Regions from separate parts of the Homo sapiens genome. Here region 1 is linked to region 2. Evidence: promoter capture Hi-C in 16 types of primary human blood cells and fetal thymus (Javierre and others, 2016). All regions are on one chromosome and are shown on one strand. The core of a region is centred on a gene start or on the middle of the fragment in contact, and the rest is flanking DNA. Distances in the headings are between cores, read along the strand shown. Region 1 has its middle 37 kb from the start of MSH6. Region 2 holds the start of MSH2-OT1 (MSH2 overlapping transcript 1).

Region 1 (3,205 bases), core at 697-3,196, 220 kb after region 2:
CCACAGAAGTTTCCAGCTGGCAAAGTGAGGCTGAGAAAAATCCTGCATCAGAAAGAATGAGGCAGGAGGATTACTTGAGGCCAGGAGTTCAAGACCAGCCTAGGCAACATAGCAAACCCCGTCTCTACAAAAAATGTTAAAAAAAAAAAAAATATATATATATATATATATATATATATATATATATATATATATATATATATATATATATATATAGTCAGGCATGGTGGCACAGACCTGTAGTCCTAGCTACCCAGGGGGCTGTGTTAGGAGGATCGTTGAGCCCAGGAGTTCAAGGTTTCAATGAGCTGGAGATCGTTGAGCCCAGGAGTTCAAGGTTTCAATGAGCTGGATTATGCCACTGCTTTCAGTCTGGGTGACAGAGCAAGACCTTGTCTCAAAAAAAAAAAAAAAAAAAAAAAAAAAGCTGATATTTAGGCTATAATTTTTTTGAGAATAAAATATTTCTTCTTTTTCCTTTTTTGGATTCTGTTTCTGGGATTTTTCTCAGTCAGCTAAAGCCCCTTTTTAAATGTGTTTGATCCCACTGTTTGCTTCCTATCTTATTGGCATGATTTTTGCTGAGAAAAATGTAAAACTTCATTGGCCTTTTTGAAAGCGGAAAATCTTCCCAAATTGGCTCCTCTAAGACTTGTTCTTCTATTTTCTTCCACATCTGCTTCTCCTTCCTTTTGTCATTTTCAATACCACATGAAGCTTAGAAGAGACTTCTAATGACCCTGAGACCCCTTGAAGAACACAGAACACAGCACCACTCACCTGCTTTTTGGAGTTTCTGTTTTCCTTATGGAGTCTGAAGTGTTGTGGGCAATTTCTTTCAGGTCTAAAGCTCTATTCCTTTTTGCATTGTATCGCCTAATCTCTTTGGTTTTAGTGGGTTCCATGAGTTGCTTTGTGCTGTGAGCGGGAACCTGACGTTTGTGTGTGCACTGGTTGACAAGTCACTGGTGAAGGCTGCAGTTTTGGAAATGGCTGACAGGGGATACAATGAATGGTTGCTACTGCAGGCAGGGCACACTTTTCTTTGTGCATTTAGATGAGAAAGGCATCATTTGAACACTTCAAAGGTGTAAGACTGCTCATCATTGAGGGATAAGACTCCCATGGGGGATAGGCTAGAATGGGTTTATTGGGTCACCCACCGCATGGCTGGTCTCATGGCATTTCCAACTTTTGGGGACCCAGGATGCAGTAAAAATGGGACCCTTGATTTTTAAAAATTTCGATGCCCTGCCTTCCAGTTGTGCCTGCTTTTCACATTTAAATATTTGACCCTGAAGACTACAAATGCTTCCCTTGCCCTATTCACTAAAGGGTTCCACCCTAAAGTCAGTAATCTAATTAAGCAGAAACAAGCTAAATTGAAAAGACCACCTATCTAACTAGATTGGTATTTAAAATAAGACCTGTGGCATTTAGCTGGCTATTTTGTAACACTTTGTAAAATAAATATCTGTAAAGGAAATCTCAATTTTTAAGAGCATCGTCCTACACTCAAGCCACAAGAAAACTTTTATAATGGGAAAGATATTGCTTAAAGTTTACACAACAGGCTGGGCATGGTGGCTCACGCCTGTAATTCCAGCATTTTGGGAGGCCAAAGTGGCCAGATCACTAGAGGTCAGGAGTTTGGGACCAACCTGGCCAACATGGTGAAACCTCATCTCCACTAAAAATTAGCCAGGTGTGGTAGCCTGTAATTGCAGCTCCTCTGCAGGCTGACGCAGGAAAATCATGTGAACCCAGGAGACGGAGGTTGCAGTGAGCGGAGATTGTGCCACTGCATTCCAGCCTGGGTGACAGAGCAAAACTCCATCTCAAAAAAAAAAAAAAAAAAAAAAAAAAAGAAGACTTTTCCAAAAGGAACACCTGTAAGTCCAAGAGAGCCATGTTAGGCTTATCTGGTATGTTAAAAGTGTACAGGAAACACTGTCAAGTAAGAAATATTTGTATAACTATGTTATTGATATGTTAATATACTTTGGATCAGTGTCCCCAACAAATCTCATGTTAAATTGTAATCCCCAGTATTGGAGATGGAGCCTGGTGGGAGGTGATTTGATCATGGGGGCGGAGTTCTCATGAATGGGTTAGCACCATCCCGTTGGAACTATTCCTGTGATAGTGAGTGAGTTATCATCAGATCTGGTTGTTAAAAGTTTGTAGCAACCCCCACCCTTCCTACTCCAGCCATGCAAGATGTGCCTGCTTCCCCTTCACCTTCCACCATGATTGTAAGTTTCCTGAGGCCTCTGAAGAAGCAGAAGTTGCTATGCTTCCTGCACAGCCTGCAGAACCATGAGCCAATTAAACCTCTTTTCTTTATAAATTACCTAGTCTCAGGTATTTCTTTATAGCCCATAATGGACTAATTGGTACTGAGGAGTAGGTCATTGCTATAAAGACACCTGAAAATGCAGAAGCAGCTTTGGAACTGGGTAACAAACAGGGGTTGGAACAGTTTTGAGGGCTCAGAAGAAGACAGGAAGATGAGGGAAAATTTGGAACTTCCTAGAGACTTGTTAAATTGTTGTGACCAAAATGCTTATAGTGATATGGACAATGAAGTCCAGGCTTAGGAGGTCTCAGATGGAAATGAGGAACTTTTTGGTAACTGGAGCAAAGGTCACTTTTGTTATGCCTTAGCAAAGAACTTGGAGGCATTGTGCCCCTGCCCTAGGGATCTATGGAACTTTGAACTTGAGAATGATGACTTAGGGTATCTGGTGAAAAAAATTTATAAGCAGCAAAGTGTTCAAGAGGTAGCCTGGCTGCTTCTAACCACTGATTCCCATATGCATGAGTAAAGAAATGATGTAAACCTGAAACTTATATTGAAAAGGGAAGCAGGATGGGCACAGTGGCTCATGCGTGTAATCCTAGAATTTTGGGAGGCCAAGGCAGACAGATCACTTGAGCCCAGGAGTTCAAGACTAGCCTGGGCAACATGGACAAACCCTGTCTCTATAAAATAAATAAATAAATAAGTAGCCAGGTGTGGTGGCACACGCCTATAGTCTCTGCCACTCAGAAGGCTGAGCCCAGGAGGTCAAGGCTGTGCAAGGCAATGATTGTGCCACTGCACTCTAGCCTGAGTGACAGAGACCCTGTCTCAAAACTAAATAAATAAAAAGTAAAAGGGAAGCAAAGCATAAAAGCTTGAAAAATTTGGAGCCTGGCCATG
Region 2 (3,186 bases), core at 507-3,006:
CACTCAGGGAATGGGGCAGGGAGTGGTCCCTGTGCAGGGCTCCCAAGGACCCATAAATAGATGCCGTGAAAGCACATATGCCTGTTCTAACAGGGAGCCTTGCAGCCCCACCAGCAAAAGTTAAGAAGGAATGATAGTGGCTCCAGTGATGTAAGATCACCCCCATGCCCCATCCACTGCGGGTCCCCTGAGCCATGTGTCAGCCCAGAGCTAGAGGGGGAGGCTAAATAAGCTCTGATTAGAAGTGAATTTGAAGATTTGATTAAACAACTGAGAACGAGTCTCAATCTTAAAACTGGTACTTAATTAACAACAACAACAACAACAAAAGAGGCCGGGCGTGATGGCTCATGCCTGTAATCCCAGCACTTTGGGAGGCCAAGGTGGGCAGGTCACTTGAGGTCAGGAGTTCAAGACCAGCCTGACCAATATGCAAAAACCCCGTCTCTCCTAAAAATACAAAAAAAAAAAAAAAATTAGCCAGGTGTGGCGGCGGGTGCCTGTAGTCCCAGCTACTCGGGAGGCTGAGGCAGGAGAATGCCGTGAACCCAGGAGGCGGAGCTTGCAGTGAGCCGAGATTGCGCCACTGCACTCCAGCCTGGGCAACAGAGTGAGACTCCCTCAGAAAAAAAAAAAAAAAGAGAAAGAAAGAAAAGAAACAAAGAAACTGGCTGAGCCTGGTGGCTCACGCCTGTAATCCCCAGCACTTTGGGAGGCCAAGGTGGGTGCATCACTTGAGGCCAGGAGTTCAAGACCAGCCTGGGCAACTTGGCGAAACTCCGTTTATACTAAAAATACAAAAATTAGCCGGGCATAGTGGAGTGCACTTGTAATCCCAGCTACTTGGGAGGCTAAGCCAGGAGAATCGCTTGAATCCGGGAGGCAGAGGTTGCAGTGAGCCAAGATCGCGCCACTGCCTTCCAGCCTGGGCGACAGAGCGAAACTCCGTCTCAAAAACAAACAAAAACCCCAAAACACAAAAAGACATAAAAACTATTTGGATAACTCTAGCATTTACCCAAGATGTTAAGGAATCTAAAAGGGAGTTCTTAAAGACAATAGATGAGACAAAGCCATTTCCAGTGTCGGCCCATTTAATAAACTGGTTCCACCTGGATTTTCTCTTCATTGTGGTGAAAGCCACCACCTAACAATGCTGGCCCTGCCTGCATCATCGCATGTCATCATGACAACCTATGGGGGAGAACAGCTCCATTCAACAGATGCAGAAACTGCAGGTTAAAGGGTGAAAAGCAGTTGCGAAGTCCCCACAGCTTGGAAATGGTGGAGCCGAGACTGAAACCCAGGTGTGCTAGCATCTAAAGTTCATGCTCTTTCCACCACATTAGACTGTATTCTGAGGGCACCAAGGAAGCTCCATTTTTCTTAAGAAACCAAATTGCAGTCCTCCAGGACCACAGCCAGGGGAGCATCTTCGTGGGAGAGTGGCTGCTGCTCAGAGTTGTGACTCCCATCCTTAAGAGTCCTCTGTCCTCTCTGGCCTCCTTTCTACTGATCATTGCTGTCCCCTTCACAGGGGAGAGGGGCCATGGCCTATCCCCTAAAGAGTCTGCCAAGGTAGACTCATAACCTCCCCGTGGCACAGCTCAGACAAGCTGGGCTATTTACATAAGACTTGACCCAGGGCTTGAGGACAGCGCGAGGAATGAGGTGCAGAGGAGACTGCTGCTTCTGGGTGACAGTCTGCCTGGCTGACCACAGCTGGGGTACTCATTGGCCTCTTGAGGCCCCCCACAGGCCTGCCCTGCCTGACCTACTCTTGTGAGGCCAAGGCCATCTCCTCCACTCTCTGGGGGCCTCTTCTGACTCCTCCAAACTCTTCCATGTCTGGACTCCTGGCTTCTGCCCAAGGCCATCTATTGGAGTTTGGGTTTCCAGTTGAGGATCTGCCTTTTTCCTGGATGACCAAACCTAGAATGTGACCGGCCTCATGCTCCCTCCTCACAAGGGTGTGGCTTTATCCGAGGGCCTCAGCAAGGCAACCAACACCAGACATGAAGCTGGTAAGACCAACATCCACCTATTCATTCCTTCAGCAAACATTTACTGTGGACAGCATCAGGTTGGCAGTATCATGCAAGGCTCAGAAATATGGTGGAAAACCAGACAGATGCAGTTCCTGTCCTCAGTCTCTAGGCTGCCTTCCTAGAGGCCCCTCACTGGGTTTCTTAGCAGTTTTGTACAGATCCTACCCCCTTTGCTGCCAGCAGGCTCACCTCTGGGACAGGGCGCATATAGTCTGGGCCAGAACTTGTCCTGGGGTCTTCTTACGGCCCTGGTTCAGCTTGCATTCAGCATAACAACTTAGCTAGGGAGTGCTGCAGGCCCCAAATGATGCTAAATACTAGACTAGCTGTGTAACACCATCTGCCCAGAATGAAGGGACAGGTGAGGCAGAAGGGTCTCCGACAGCGCACAGGGCAACCAGTGAAAGCGTCCTTACTGTCCTGTTCCTGAGGTCTCTCTGTGCCTGCTTTACTGCCCTTCGCTTTCCTACAGAGCACACTCAGCTCATCCTGGGAGACAAGGTGGGGGTGGAGGATGGTCCATCCTTCTTCCGCATCAAGGTCAGTAGGTTCAGAGCTCTGGGGGGGTGCTGAGACCCTGGGACAGGCTTCCTGCTGAGGGCACTGGGGCCTATGCTTGTGCCACTGCCTAGCCAGTTGCCTCCCAGAGTAGAGAAGCAGTCTCCCAAGCTCTTGCAATTTGTGGGGAGCCAAGCTGCTCTGGAGAGGGGCCTCAAAGCTTCAGCCAGAGAAAAGGCAAACCCAGCCACCCTGAGAATCTCCTCCTCCCCCTCAATCACACCCTGCAGAGGCGTGATCTGTCCCTGGGTTCGCACCAAGCCTGCTATTTTGTTTATGCCACAATTGATCTGCCATCCCAGTTTGCAAAGAGCAGACACTTGGGGGCTTTATTATGCCACTTTGACAAAAGCTGTGAAGCTCGTTCCCACAGCCTGTCTGGTGCCGCCTTCGCAAATGGGGCCCTGGTGATGGGGCCTTCGGAGTTCAGCTCAGAGAGCATGGAAGTGAGATGGAGAGGCCAGCACTGATCTGTATCGTGCAGCCCTGGGCGGCAGCCTCGGTTGGGCCCTTGACACACTCCTCCCATCCAGGCCCCCAGCCACCCTGTGAGGGAGGCACTATTACGCCCAAAAATGCA

What was found. The method cuts DNA at HindIII sites, captures the fragments that hold promoters and counts their contacts. A CHiCAGO score of 5 or more calls a contact.
Region 1: a fragment that was not itself captured here is called in contact with the fragment with the promoter of MSH2-OT1 in region 2 in 2 of 17 cell types (naive B cells and M0 macrophages); the score reaches 6.8 in naive B cells.

The regions. Positions count from the first base shown.
Region 1 is chr2:47,744,439-47,747,643 of GRCh38, forward strand. No RefSeq gene overlaps it. Among named protein-coding and RNA genes, the nearest start is that of MSH6, 37 kb to the right of the region's middle. The HindIII fragment of the contact is 2,462 bases long and covers 716-3,177 here.
Region 2 is chr2:47,525,781-47,528,966 of GRCh38, forward strand. It overlaps MSH2-OT1 (MSH2 overlapping transcript 1), which reads left to right and starts at 1,757. Exons shown (of 3, transcript NR_120602.1): 1 at 1,757-2,024; 2 at 2,521-2,588. All of the region lies in intron 1 of KCNK12 (potassium two pore domain channel subfamily K member 12), which reads right to left. It also overlaps a transcript of MSH2 not described here. The HindIII fragment of the contact is 9,331 bases long and covers 1-2,764 here.